Linked DNA regions of Homo sapiens: regions 2 and 3 are each linked to region 1. Evidence: promoter capture Hi-C in human tissues and cell types (Jung and others, 2019). All regions are on one chromosome and are shown on one strand. Each heading gives the region's core, a stretch centred on a gene start or on the middle of the fragment in contact. The rest is flanking DNA. Distances are from core to core; before and after follow the strand shown. Region 1 holds the start of ZBED5 (zinc finger BED-type containing 5). Region 2 overlaps TEAD1 (TEA domain transcription factor 1). Region 3 overlaps SBF2 (SET binding factor 2).

What was found. Contacts are between HindIII fragments. The study calls those that stand out against the background at their distance.
Region 2: a contact is called between a fragment that was not itself captured here and the fragment with the promoter of ZBED5 in region 1, in 2 of the 25 tissues and cell types used here (bladder and psoas muscle).
Region 3: a fragment that was not itself captured here is called in contact with the fragment with the promoter of ZBED5 in region 1 in 1 of the 25 tissues and cell types used here (hippocampus).

What each region holds. Positions count from the first base shown.
Region 1 is chr11:10,855,088-10,860,016 of GRCh38, reverse strand. It overlaps ZBED5 (zinc finger BED-type containing 5), which reads left to right and starts at 1,964. Exons shown (of 3, transcript NM_001143667.2): 1 at 1,964-2,155; 2 at 3,760-3,873. It overlaps ZBED5-AS1 (ZBED5 antisense RNA 1), which reads right to left and starts at 1,800. Exons shown (of 3, transcript NR_034137.1): 1 at 1,651-1,800. RefSeq lists enhancers at 492-1,127, 1,529-1,618, 1,128-1,765, 1,919-2,298. The HindIII fragment of the contact is 25,171 bases long and covers 1-4,172 here.
Region 2 is chr11:12,691,178-12,696,106 of GRCh38, reverse strand. The region is part of intron 2 of TEAD1 (TEA domain transcription factor 1); the gene reads right to left. Among named protein-coding and RNA genes, the nearest start is that of TEAD1, 19 kb to the right of the region's middle. RefSeq lists an enhancer at 1,500-2,699. The HindIII fragment of the contact is 5,849 bases long and covers 17-4,929 here.
Region 3 is chr11:9,852,600-9,857,528 of GRCh38, reverse strand. SBF2 (SET binding factor 2) reads left to right here. Exons shown (of 40, transcript NM_030962.4): 19 at 809-1,071; 20 at 3,817-3,989; 21 at 4,780-4,853. All of the region lies in intron 1 of LOC101928008 (a long non-coding RNA gene), which reads right to left. Among named protein-coding and RNA genes, the nearest start is that of LINC02709, 96 kb to the right of the region's middle. RefSeq lists an enhancer at 1,622-1,721. The HindIII fragment of the contact is 9,218 bases long and covers 1-4,929 here.

The DNA.
Region 1 (4,929 bases), core at 715-3,214:
GATGTACTTATTTAAACACTATTCTGCCTAACAGTTTAATATTTTGGGTTTTCCCTCTTCATGAAGATGTAAACAAGATGTGTAAAGATTGGTTTGGGAGCCCATGGCAAGGACAGGAAAATCAAACACATGTTCTCACTCATAGGTGGGAATAGAACAATGAGAACACCTGGACACAGGGTGGGGAACATCACACACCAGGGCCTGTCGTGGGGTGGGGGGAGGGGGGAGGGATAGCCCTAGGAGATATACCTAATGTAAATGACGAGTTAACGAGTGCAGCACACCAACATGGCACATGTATACATATGTAACAAACCTGCAAGTTGTGCACCCTAGAACTTAAAGTATAATAATAAAAAAAATAAAAAATAAAAAAAGATTGGTTTGGGAGCACATATGTAAAAGGTTTTTCTAAAATATGAAACACGAAAATATATTATTCCAATATTATTCTGAAGCCAGACAACTCCCGCAATGACAAAATCCCTTGCTCTTCAAGCGCGACTGTACCCCCTTCCCAAAAACGATTTATGCATTTATGGTTAAAGTTCAAATGAAGCTGATTTAATAGAAATAATTTAAAAATAATAATGAGAATATATGGACAGCTTACTATAGGGTGAGATGATGTTGTAATTGACTTTAAAACATTTGGAACTAAATGTCAGTCCTAGGAAATTATGCACTCCTGTAAATTGTGCTATTAAGGGTTAGGTTTCTTTCAACACTTTAGATATTTGATCAGAAGCATATTTAAGAAAAACGAAAGCTGCCCTTGCTTTTGACCCCAAGTTGAGAATTTTCTATCATTGGTGCAGTGCCTGAAAATACGATCCAATCTTCATTTAGTCATTTGTACGGAGTCTGGAAAGGCTAAAACATTGCAAATAATAGGACCTACTCGTACTTTCCCCGCTTAAGAAGCGTATCTATTTCAAGGTGCCTATTTGGAAAAACAGACTCCAGGTCTCCACCACAGAACTTAACACAAAATGAAAGCACACAACCCGCAGCCTTTGGCTGTGGTGTTTTTGAAAACAAGGAAGGGCACAGAACCATGGCTTAAAATACCCGAAAGCTGCAGCCCACAAAAAGAGTATTTCAGGGCGGGTTGGCCGTTCCCTGCAGGCAAACGTTCGGTGCAGGCGGCCGGGCGTTCCTGCGGGGAGGGCGCCACTGTGATGCAAAGACATCAAGCGGACTTTCAGCTTGCCCGTGGACGCTGCGGTGCCGCTTTCCCTATCCAGTCCTGTTCCCGCGGCTCCCCAGCCTACCCCGGGCCGACCAAGAGGTCCGGCGGGGTCTGCGCCGCATCAGCGCCCGCTCGTCAGGCCTAGCCCTCCGCACAGCCAAGGCCGACCAGACCTCTAGACACTCCGTCGTCGGGTGTGGGGCGGAGAAGTAAAGGGCGAGTTTTCTTCCTAGATTCCAGTGGGAACCAAGAAAAGGAGTTGGCAGCTGTGTAAACTGGACCTGGGGTGCGGCCTCCGGGAACAAAAGAGGTGATAAATGCACAGCAGCCGAGGTTCTGCGTGCTCCTTTGGGGCCACTACGAATCCCCGTGAATCACCCCAGCCCGGGCAGAGGGCCAGAAATGATGAAAATGCAGATTCATGGCTTCCACTCCAGCCCTACAAGATCACCAACCGTATCTGGCAGTACCCAGGAATCTGCATTCTCGACAAGCGTCCGCGCCGACGGGGCTAGTGAAGTTTGAGAACAATTGCTTCCTACCCAGCCGCTCCGCTATCACCTAGGTAGCACGGCCGCTGCGGCTGAGGCTGTGACTGCGGCTGCGGCTGGGCCGCGCCTCAACCGAGCTTGGTCCTTTCCTTTGGTCCCGCCCCGCTGCTCAGCGCGGATTGGTGGCGGGACGCAAATCTGGCGCTGATTGGGCGGCGGCAGAGTCGCTCGTGAAGATTGTAGGGTTCGGGTGCTCTAGAGTGCTAAATTTATCTTCAGACCGGCGACCGCGCCAGCCGCGAATCGGATCTCTATGGAGATGGCCTAGGCGATATCCCTGAGCTGAGAGCATCACCCTGTCCCCGAATCCTTCTTTCCTCTCTGTTTTGTTTTTCATTCCCCTCCCTCTCTCCCCTCCCCCTCCAGTCCACGACGACTGGCTGTTGACCCTGTTCAGGCCTCGGTGAAGGTGAGAAGCAGAGCCGCCGCCGCGGCTAAGCGGTGCGCTCTGAAATGGCCGCTTCCTGGAACTGCCTAAGATGGCGGTCGCGGGCTCTGCTGTGGACCGCGGCGCTGCTGTGCAGCCCAGCCGCGGCAAAATCCGTTCTCTCCATCGCTGATGGAGATGAAATAGAGAGATGGTGTTGGGTGCTGAGACGTTTTCATGTGGTCGTTAGCGCAGGCGGCCGCCCGGGGACGCGAGAGAAGACCTGAGGCGAGGGTGGGCTGCGACTGGTAGGGAGCCCCCCAGTCGTGGCAATCTGTGGGCAGCGCGCACCTGTGACAGGGAGGAGCTGAGGGATAGTTGGCCCTGGCTGCACATCCAGGTGACCGTTTAAAAAAGCATTTAGGTGTTGGAAGGAGCATCTGTTCCCACCTTTTTGGCTGGCCTGCACTCAGATCCTGTCCTCCTGACCCTGAGGGTATTGTTCCCAGCCGGAACCGCCCGAAGATAGGGGAGAAAGGATTGTGATACTTGTCAGTTTAACCGGAAGGAGACTAAAGACGGAAGTTTTCCCCGCTCTTCAGGGAGTGGAAAGGAAACTTTACTCTCAAAGGAGTCCAGATTCTTTGTCCTCGAGAAATTCGGGGAAACACCTTCGAAGAGGTGGGGTTGAGGACCTTCTTTCTGAAAACAAAAGCTTCCTACTCTTCTGTGTCCTCTGGCAACGAGAGGGATCCTGATCTTTTACGTGAACCAGCAGCTCCACAGAGTTCTCCGTTGCAAAATCCAAAAGGAGACTGTGGAAGGAGAATCTGCTTTTTTGCTCCCAATAAGAAGCAGGGCTTTATGCTGTTGCTAGTATGAGACCCTCGACTTTCTGGCAGTTATAATCCATTGTTCATCCGTTTCGCTGCATAACCCAACTCCTAGTAACGAGATTTTTTAGTAGTTGGGGAATTAAAAGTATTCAGGAACACCCAAGTAATGGCTAGACACATGGGCTATGCAGTCAAACTTTTTGGGCTCTGAACTTGGTTTTTCACTTACAAGAGGTGTTAGCGAGATGTGTTAACCTGTGTCTGTTTATCTCTAAAGTGGGGTTATTAATAATCCTTGTGTCTTCATAGATGAGATAATCTATATGAGGGATTTAGCAGTAATTGGCATACAGTAAACAATCATCAGTCATTAGACATTGTTTACCTGAGGAGATTGGTCACTGGGGGGCTAAAAATGATTGTAGTGAAAGAACTGCTTCATGTAATAGTTCTATGTATAATTCCATTTTAGATTCAAGACCTAGTTTTAGAGACATTGATGAGGTTGTACTTTTAAAAATTAGGCTTAGTTTCAAGTTCTAGAAAGTGTGGTGGTGGTGTTGTTTTAACATGTTTCTATGAAGTCAGTAGGTGGGGGAACATCTCAAAGCATCTAAATTGCCAAGATATTGAACAGGATGAAAATGTTAGAATTTTTACTATGCTAGGCGTCTTCTCTTTCAGTCCAAGATCTGCATTGCAGTAAAGAATCATTTTCACTGCTTAGATCCAGAAAGAATAAACCCATCTTACGGGTTTATAGTTAGTTCTGCTTGTTACTGTATCTAATTTTAATTTTTCTCATTCTAGGCTTTTGGTTACTCCCCTTCCCACCCCATCCCTTAATTTTATTCTTTTGAAGAGTGCATTTCAAGCTGCCAAGGTGGAGAGAGGGATTACAGAAAGGAGAACACCTTATTTCAGGTATCTTATCCTCTACCCCTTAATAGGAGAACCATTTTGACTCAAGATCTAACATGAGAATACAAAACTTACTCTATAGCCAGGTTATAAAGTTTAAATCAAAAGTAGCTATATTTGGACAGACATAATTTGTATGCCTTGATTTATAGAGTTAATAGTATTCTTTAGCAATCCTTAGATTGCATTATCCTTTTAATTTTGATTTGTTTTATTATATGAGAAATAAACCTCTTAAATGAGAGTTTATTTTTTTTTTTTAGGTCCTGGTTAAGTCGTCACCTGTTGTATAAATAGAATGCAGAGTTATCTGTAAAAATATACATTACTTTCATTGAGTCTTAATTTGGATAATATAAACGTTTATATAATTTAAGTCCAGAGAAACAGTACCTAACTTTTGATATACAATTTATTCTTCATTGTTAACGCATAACATTTAGGATACAGTAGAATTATGTATCTCGCAAAACTTGGAACTGTGTGTGTGTTTAATTCACTTCTTCAGAATTGTTGCTAGCCCTGAAGGGACTTCAGATATATAATAGTATCAACAACTAATACATCTAATGACAGTAGGCATCAAAAGCTAAAAGAGATTTCACAATACTACATACCATGAGACAGGGCTGATAAATTATGGCCCATGCTGTCTGGTTTTGTACGTAAAGTTTTATTGGAACACACCTGTGTCCATTCTTTCATGTATTGTCTATGGCTGCTGTCATGTTACAACTACAGAGTTGAGTAGTTGCAACAGAGACTATATGGCCCTTGACCAAAAAAAGCCTGCCAACCCCTGCCATGGGACATATTCTTCAGGGTCCCTTTCTTAAAAATATGTATAACAACTCTTAATAATTTATTGGCTCAGTGATTCCCAAATTATGTTTTATAGAATATTAATATTCTCTAAGTTAATAAATGTTTTGAGAAAATGATTGATGCTAATATTGGTTTTTCTTTATGGTTGATTTTAATATGTTTATTTAAATATGAGATTAAGACTGCTAAACTCATTTCTATAGCTTTTATTTTTATGTGATAATCTACCTTTAA
Region 2 (4,929 bases), core at 1,692-4,191, 1.8 Mb before region 1:
CTAAGGAGGCACAGCTGTACAGTCAGAGCCTCAAATAACAAGCAACTGTCTTCTTTGTAGCTTGCTTGCTTGTTGGTTGCCTGGGTTGGAGGAAAAAACCACTTTGTTGCTATCAAATAGGAATGTATTTCTGGTTCCTCCTTTTTTCTTCAGAGAAGAGTTCTTAGCAGGAATCTCACCTGAAAGGGGGCAGAACCTGGCTAAAATATGGCAAGGTCTTGGACGGCATGAATGCAAGGGTTGGGGAGACACAGGCACAGTAGAAACTCACACAACACACAAACAGAACTCAAGCCTTCTGGGGCAGGCTCAGAAAATAAAATAATCTGCCATCTATAGGAAATATCTGTTCAGTGTAAAGGTTAAGTGAGGCCCCTTCCTTACAAAAGCCACTGGGTTTTTCATAAAGTAACCCCAAAGAGTCCATCAGTCTGGGTCCATTTCACTTAAGGCAACAAACATTCCTCACAGATCATGGGCTGTGCTCTGTGTGGTTGCTAATAGGATAATCTGTTACAGGAGGCTTACAAATCCATTTACATTGATTTTAATTAATTAATCAATCCCTGGCCCCGAACAACTTGGTCTAGAGACGATAAGCAATTCAAGATTCAGTCTCTAATCCCAGCCTGAAATCTACATGAAAAAGAAGTTAACTGTCAGATCAATGAAGGACAAATAAAAATAACTGGATTTGTACCTCTCTTAACATAAGGAAAAATCTCCTCCAAGTTTAGACAGTGACTATTTACATGTTAATGAGAGTAATATATTTTCACAGTGATTTCCAAAGAAACTCACCTAAGACTAAGGAGTTTTTGTACCAGCCTGAAATCTGGAGAACCACAGCCAGAAATTATGACTCTCAGTCAAGCCTCTAAAATCAAAATGAGCCCGACTTTCTCAACAGCTTATCAGAGCCTTTTAGTGAGGCCTGAAGTTGAACAGAAAATTACCCAAACACAAAATACAAACGACAAGTAAGAACGAAGTGGCCCTCGCCAGCCTGGCTGTGCGCTGAATTAGCCACACTTGATTAAAAAGCCAGGCAAACTTTTGCATTTGCTTTTATTTTATTCTTTACAAAGGCTGAAATAGAATTTGACCTTTCTGAGCTATTGCCAGCTATGAATTGGAAACAAGCTCAATTTAAAAGGTAGCATCAATATCTAACTGCTCATCATCTCAAATTTTTTTCCATCTTCCTCAGTGTCTTTTCACAGGGTTTGTCTACCCATGCTATTTTTAGACTTCTATCAGAACTTCCAATGACTCCATATAAACCTACAGTAGGGGGGAGAAGGGTCTCATTTCAGTCCCATTTTCTCAAATCCCACGCTAGCTAACACCAATTAGCGTAGAAAAAGAAGGTAAGAGTTGGTAAATGAAAATGAGTCACACTCAATTTTAATTTTTCTCAAGATTGAAAAAGCTCATAAATTCACAAGTAAAGCACAAAGCAACAGTGAGTCCCAACTTCACACAGAAACACCAACCCAACTCTGCTCTGACTTGGGTACGTACACAAAGTGGGCACTGCTCATAAAGGAGAAAAATAAATACGAGTCACAGCAGACCCAACATTGGGAGACAACTTCGTGTTTCTCCCTTACTCTTTAAAATATTTAATAAAACAGTTATAAAACTGATTCTGAAGTCAGGAAGACTGGCGTGAAACACTGCAAAAGGAAAAAAAAAAAAAGAGGACCCTGTATATAAGGAAGTAAACTGCAAGTAAAAGCAAGAGACAGGCCAGAGCTTGGCAGGCTGGCGAGTGTGTTAGTTTGTTCTCTCGTCTCTCTCCCCTCTCTCTCTTTTTTCTCTCCTTTCTCTCAAGTGAAGAACAAACAAAGAGTCGATACTTCAACTATACATATGGAATCCAGAGCTTTCTGCCTAGTGTCGGCTTGCATGTCCCCTAGTTTTAGGATTCACTGGAACACTAAAGCCCCTTGAAACATTTGCCATGTGTTTGCTGGGGCACTTCCCCGGACTCAGCCTGCCGCCTTTCCTGGCTGAGTTGTGCCGGGCCGCACAGCAGAGCAGGGTGTGCCAACGCAGCCTGACATTCAGATCAAGACCACAAATTATAAACAGTTTCAGTAAATTGACTCAAGTGCCTTTGTTCCTCAGACATACATCTTCCTACCGCTTACAAAGGCAGGCAGCAGAACCTAACCACCAACGCGGCTATAGCCAGGACTGGGAAAGGAAGTTATTGAAGCCTGGATTTCCTGCCTTTGCTTGTAGCCAAGAACTATGAGGCTTGTAGTGGTTTCAGGAACTGACTCATCTCATGATTCATGGATAAGATACTGCTTTTAATATGTTTCTGACCCTAAGATTCAGGAAAATCAAAACCAGTCTGAACCTATGCTTCACTCTTATTTGCAAATGAATATTCACAGCAAAATAAACAGGAGGACAACGGTTACCGAAACAATGAAAACATCATGCCAGTGGCAGGAAAAGTGGAATGCAGGCATCACATGGGAAGCCGTCATCAAAGCTTAATCCATGGGCTGCGACTTAACAGCGTTTCAACTTCCCAAAAGTGGATAACAGGTGGGATAAGGTTTATTTTTAGATGTCATTCCCCTAGATGTAAAAATAGATTTAGCACAGCAATATTTTAATTCAGGCCCATCTGGGGTTGTGACTCTAAATATCCAGGATGTACAGAAGCATGTAGCTTAAGATTTAACTGTTCCAGTTGCAAACCAGAGTTCAGAGTGAGCAGACCAATGATTAATGGGTAATAAAGGACTCGCATTGGAACTCATTCTCTTAAATCATCCTCTGCTAGAAGGCTGAAATTCTGTATTTCCACCCATGTGCTGACTGGCCTTCTCTGTCCTTTACTGTGCGCATGCACACACGCACACACACATGTGCACACAGCCCAGGACTTAAAAGCGAAGTTCTTTAAAAGTACTAAGCACCAGGGGCTCGCACCTCTGGCTGCTTTCCATGATGTTCCCTGTGGATTTATTCATCACAAAGAGGTCCCCACTAGAAAAAACTTTTAAAGCCTCCCTCATTCATGGATTGTTGGGTTCTCCCCACTATCCCCACACAAGACATTAAGCACAGGACCAGTAGGGGTGGTTTTCAAAAGCCTTTATGGGTTTCAACACAGCCCAGTTGCACAGAAGGAAAAGGGGGAAAAGAACACAAAAAACACAGGCTGTTCTGTGGGGTGGGGGTGGAGGAAGCAGTAAGAACAGTTGACCAGGCAAGGCCAAAGTGCAGGGGCCGGCTGGCAGGCGCTGCATGGCTGGGCTCCTCCAGCAGATTTACTGACATGACGTCAGTGGCTCCAGTCCAGCTTTTTCTTTGGTAGCTTTTACCACTTGCCTCCTGAAGCCTCCACTATGTTAGGGAGCCACAGGACCATAATGAAAATTCCCTTTGTGAAACTGAGTTTACCGCGGGGCACAGAAGCCTGCCTTGTGAATTACGGGGCTCTTCCCCCTACTCTCAGTGCCCACGGAGGAAAGCGGGGGCGGGGGGGAAATAAACCCCTACAATACTGTACTTTCCTTTAATACAGAGGAACCATTACATTAAGCTTGCGGCTTTAAAAAGAAAAAAAAGCCGGGGTGGTGGGTGAGGGGCATTAAATGTGTATCCAAAATTTCCCAGGCCAGGATGCTGGTTAACTTCTCAGTGGTGTGGAGAATGATGATAATTTCAGGACTATTCACTTGTGCCGTCATGAGACTGTGTTGGCTGCACTGTGAACGCATACAGCTTTGTTTCACCAACAAAACAAAAAAGTATTACTGAAGCTAAAACTGTAGGTCTGAATGGAAACTCTGAAGAAAGCATTAGAGCGTGTCTTTAAAATGAGCCCTGCTTTGCTGGGGGGACTGGGGGGTGGTTGGCCTAAGTGCATAGTCTATGATGCACCAACATGGGCATAAAACAATTTCCAAGAAGCAAAGACAGAAATTATAATACTAAAAATAAGTTTAATAGCAGACTTGTTAAATAAAAAACACTCATCTTAGACTTGCAGGCCTACTACTATAGGCCCGCAGCACTAAAACAATAGCTATGTTACAACTAGGGATCCAATGCATAAATCTATCTAAAACTACAAATCTTTAACTTATTTAAGCTTATAAAAATAATAGACTAGTGATAAATTCTTTAAATGACTAGGACATTAAATACATTCTATTTTAAACACTTTGGAGAAGAAGTACAAAGCTTAATTCAATCAATATTTATTGAAACAGATGAGTACAAACGTACCCAACAATACCATCGAAATACAGCTTGCAGCCTGAATGGCTCACGGTGGTAATAAGATAAGGAATCTCTCATGTCCTGGTTATGTATACAAGGAATAGAACAAACTATCAGGCAGACATGATGAAGGCAATGACTAAAGACTTCTGTGAAGCCTACATTAACATGAGCTTTGGCCTTCAGGAGGCAAGTCAAACCACAAACCATCCATGGTAATTCTTCAGTTTGGTCTTTTTCTTAAGGGAGGAAAGGACAAGATGACAAGCACAAGCATGAAAGTGGCAAATGAGAGCCAAAGAGGCCAGGCATGAGCAAGTGTGCAAGGAAAGCTTTTACCACGATTAGAGTTGACATGGCAGGCAGGATCCATTTCCAAAGGTGAGCAGATTATTCAACTGAAGGAGTGGGAGGAGAAAAAAAGCAGAGAACCTAGCACACACATCATAGCCTAGAAACTCCATTTCTCACTAAAAGGAACCCAAACTCTGCAGAAATGGTTCATTCTATCTCCCAGAATACACAAGAGGTTGGACAGCAAGGAAACTATAAAAGACTATTAATAGGGTCACATCAAAAGGCCACAGGAGCCAACTAAAGAAATTCCCACTGGCCAAAGATGAAACAATTTGAGCATCAGTAAGAGGAGGAACTGCAATGGACTGAAACGCATTC
Region 3 (4,929 bases), core at 1,268-3,767, 1.0 Mb after region 1:
ATAAGTGTTAGAAACTATCATCCTCATGAATTGAACTTAAAGCAGCCTTAACGGCTGATTATCATTCTACTCCAGAAATTTACTGGGCTTCGGGGGTGCTTTTGATCATTTTTTAAGCAGATGTAATGTTAATATTGACACATCTCGAAAGCATTCATAGAGCAAACACATGTCACTGCTTCTTTGTCAGCCATTCTAAAGAAGTCTATCCCGGAGCCAGCCCTAGGTTAGGTACAAGTGAGACCATAGACATACCAGCTCTTCACAAGCTATAAGGTGCTTTGCTGCTGCTTCCTGAGGTTTGTCACATAGTTCCACTCAAGGCCTGTTGGATCTGGGAAAGAAGACTAGGTTTTGTTTTGTGGTTGTTATGTTATGTTTATGTTTTCATTTTTGCTGATTTAAGCATTTAATAGAATAGTTATTTAAAACATCTATGTTAGGCCGGGCGCGGTTGCTCACGCCTGTAATCCCAGCACTTTGGGAGGCCGAGGCGGGCTGATCACAAGGTCAGGAGATCGAGACCATCCTGGCTAACATGGTGAAACCCCGTCTCTACTAAAAATACAAAAAATTAGCTGGGCGTGGTGGCAGGTGACTGTAGTCCCAGCTACTCGGGAGGCTGAGGCAGGAGAATGGCGTGAACCTGGGAGGCAGAGCTTGCAGTGAGCCAAGATCGTGCCACTGCACTCCAGCCTGGGTGACAGAGCGAGACTCCGTCTCAAAAAAAAAAAAAAAAAAAATCTATGTTTTTTAAGCTCACCTGAAGTGATGGTTCTCTTTTGGATTGTGTTGCTTTATTTTTTAGGATAAGCTTCCTGATGACCATTATCAGGAGAAGACAGCAATGGACCTGGCAGCTGAGCAACTACGCCTTTGGCCTACCCTGAGCAAGTCAACTCAGCAAGAGCTAGTGCAACATGAGGAAAGCACTGTCTTTAGTCAGGCCATTCACTTTGCAAACCTCATGGTGAACCTGCTAGTTCCACTCGACACAAGTAAAAACAAGCTCCTAAGAACATCAGCGCCAGGTGACTGGGAGAGCGGAAGCAACAGCATTGTCACAAACAGGTACCAAAATGTGAACACACAGACCCTCCTCCTACTCTTCTTGGGGCCAGTCTTGGCTTGACAGATAATATTAAACATTTTGAGCAAATACTGCTGTACATATTTCAAAAGTTAACCATTTTTCCTCACCTTTGGACTTGCTCAGCTTTTCTTTCTAAAAGATTCACTTCATCCTACTATTCTTAACCACTTCCCACACTTTCTTCTTTTTTATGACCTAATTTTTCCAAATGTCTCACCCATTACTGATCCAGCCCTTCAGTTACTGTCTGCCAAAGCAATTTACAGAAATCATTCCAAAGAAATTAGTGAGCACCTTCTTGCAAAAGTGGCTGTTTGTTTCTCAGCCCTCCTTTTCCTCAACCTTGTAGTCATACCCTCAACCATGCCTTCCTCTCTACCCTCCAGTAACTTCTCATACCACTGAAACTAAAACCCAGTGTTTACCATGGCCTGCAAGGCCTAACGGAATCCGTCCTCTGGCTACTGCTCTGACCCCCTATTTCCTATCACTCTTCTGTCAACCAAACTGGTCTCCCTGCTCATGCTAATCCTCAGACACTCCAAGCATATTCCTGCCTCACATCCTTTGTACTGGTATTTTCATTCTGGAATATTCTCACCTAAACAGGCCAAGAATCACTTCCTCACTTTATTTAGGTCTCTGCTCAAATGTTACTTGCCTCAAGAAGCCCTCCTGACTTCTGCATCTTAATAATACCTCTCCCTCTCCTACTTTGCATTGTCTTTCATGTCATTTTTTACAACCTGATTTATTTTCATATGTTTGCTTGTTATGTTTCCTTTGTCAGTTTTGTTCATTGCTGTATTCCTAGTGTCTTTGCATATAGTACTCAATAAATATTTGGTTGAACAGATGATTAAATGAGTGAATAAATGAACTTATCAACCCAACAGTAGTGAAATTCTATCCTTAGAGCTTCAGTGATGGGTGCCGCAACATCCTGGTAGTTCGAGCTCGCATAAATTCTTCTCCTCATGCTCCTTCAGGCAGCTCCTCTTCTCTTCCCATTCTCAATTCCTCTTCCAAGCTCTTCTTACTCTGTGGAAGACTCATCCACAAGCCTAAATCTCTGGCCCAAACCTTTTAATCTTGTTATCCTAGGTACTTCATTTTTGTCAGGGACACCTCAGAGTTTCTGGTCTTCCAGGCTAGACAACTTGGAATCAGCATTTCACACCATACAGTCAACTGCACAGATCTCTTACCCCCACCCATATAGAGTTTCTTGTTCATCCTCTGGTTATTTAATGGGAACAACATAGTCTGGCCTTTATCACTTCAAGCCCTAATTATAACAGTCTCTTAGTTGTTTCATTTTTTATTCTTCTTTCTACTGCCAAAAGGATCTTCCCGAAATGATGCTTTCCCATTCCTTCACTACTCATAATTCCACAAGACTCTGTTTCAATACAGGACCTATCTGTTTAATTTGTAAGATATTCCTTAGCTGTCACAGCTTTATCTCCATTCTCCATTGCCAGTGACGTTCATCTTCATTATAACAAGCAATAACTATATTTTACATTTCTTTTAAAGTTTTGGACCAGGCATGGGGCTGACTACCTTATAATCCCAGCACTTTGGGAGACCGAAGTGGGAGGATTGCTTGAGGCCAGGAATTCAAGACCAGCCTGGGCAACATAGTGAGACCCTATCTCTACAAAAAATAAAAATTAGTCAGGTGTGGTAGCACACACCTGTAGTCCTAGCCACTTGAGAGGCTGAGGCTGGAGAATCACTGCTGCAGGAGGATTTCTTGAGCCCAGGAGTTTGAGGTTACAGCTAGCATCGCTGCACTCTCGCCTGGGTGACAGAGTGAGACCCTGTCTCTAAAATAAATAAATAAATATAAACAAATAATAATCATTATAGATGACAGTGCTCTCTCAAAGTCTGCATGTTGATGGCCATAGTCTCTGCTTAGCTTTACTTTAACAATCTCTAACACTGATTCAGCTAATGTGGTTGGCTTTGCAGAAAAGAGAAGTTAATAGGAACAGACAAATGAGTCTTTTCCCAGAGTCTGATGGGTTGAACAGTAAGAGCTGAATAAGCAAGAAGGGCAGAGATTGAGCTTTCACATCTGTTCCATTTCAAATTTGTTCCCTTCTCTTGCATGATTTTATCATCTACAGAAGAATGCTGGCTTCAAAGTGGCCAAATGGGTTGCAGTTAACTCAGAGAGTGATAAATCCTGGCAAGAGAAGGGACAGTTTGGTCCTTACATATGGAAGAGTACGCTTGTTGCTGAGAAAAATTCTCTTACTTTGCCTACCAGGGAACATGTTCCTCAGTTGCCAAGTAGCCAAAGATAGCTGTATTACTTGTTCTCTATGTAATAATTAACTTGGGAGGACAGGTTGCTTTAGAAGGCCCAGGTAGTCCATAATAAATGAAAAAATCCTCTTTTGCTTTATTTTCTGTGGTTCCTGCATTCCTTTTGGGAGAGTGACTAAAGGTATTCCTTACAGAAACAAATCTGGGTCCAAACAAATTTCCTTACAGAAACTTACTGCCTGACAGTAGTTTCCAAATGTAGACTAGTAGAACATTGTGTTTTATCACCATCACTTACCAAGGAGCCATGGAGTTAAGTGAGCCTTCTACTTGAGTAGACATCACTTTGCTCATGTTTCTGTCGCTATGTAAATTGACTACTATATAGTAGTCATTTGTTGCATTTAAGTACTGACCATGATTTCTTTCCTTGACTGTCTTAGTATTGCAGGAAGTGTAGCTGAGAGCTATGATACAGAGAGTGGGTTTGAAGATTCAGAGAATACTGACATTGCCAATTCTGTTGTGCGGTTCATTACCCGATTTATTGACAAAGTTTGTACAGAGAGTGGAGTTACTCAGGATCACATCAAGAGCCTTCATTGCATGATACCAGGTAATCACTCTGCAGATATTAGAGAATCAGAATATTGGAGATTATTGAGTTTCAGCATAAAACCTGGCAATACATGTCTTCCATTATAGTTCAGCCATGCTATTTATTTATTTTCTGATTAGTTTTTAAAATGTTTTTAAATTGTTGTAAAATACATATATAACATAAAATAATCTAAGTGTACAATTCAGTGGCATTAATTACATCTACAATGTTGTGCAGCCATCACTGTTATCTATTTCTAAAACTTTTTTATTACCCCAAACACTCTACCCATTAAGCAGTAACTCCTGTTTCCCCTGGTAACTTCTAATGTATTTTCTGTCTCTATAAAGTTGCCTGTTCTAGATATTTCACATAAGTGGACTTAGATAATATTTGTACTTTTGGGTTTGGTTTATTTCATTTAGTATAATGTTTTCAAGGTTCATACGTGTTGTGGCATGTATCAGAATTTCATTCCTTTTTATGGCTGAGTAACTTTCCATGGTATGGCTGTCCCACATTTTATCCATTCATCTGTTGATGGACATTTGAGTTACTTCTCCCTCCCTTTTAGCTATTATAAATAATAATACATGAATATCCACATATAAGTATCTGTTTGAGTCCTTTCATTTCTTTTGGGTATATATGTAGAAGTGGAATTGCTGGGTCATAATGGTAATTCTCTTTAACTTTTTTGAGGAACCAGTAAACTGTAATTAACTTTTAATTCTAAAATATCCAGAATTTGTTTTTATCCTGCTTGTCTGTGTTCTTTCATTTTGAATACTCTGACTCATCCTAGGAATTGTAGCTATGCACATTGAGACCCTAGAAGCAGTACATCGAGAAAGCAGAAGACTTCCGCCTATTCAGAAGGTAATTCCAGACTACATGCTTTCAGGGTATAGCCTCTCTTCTTAAAAACAAACAATAGACTGCTGTGTGCCAGGAA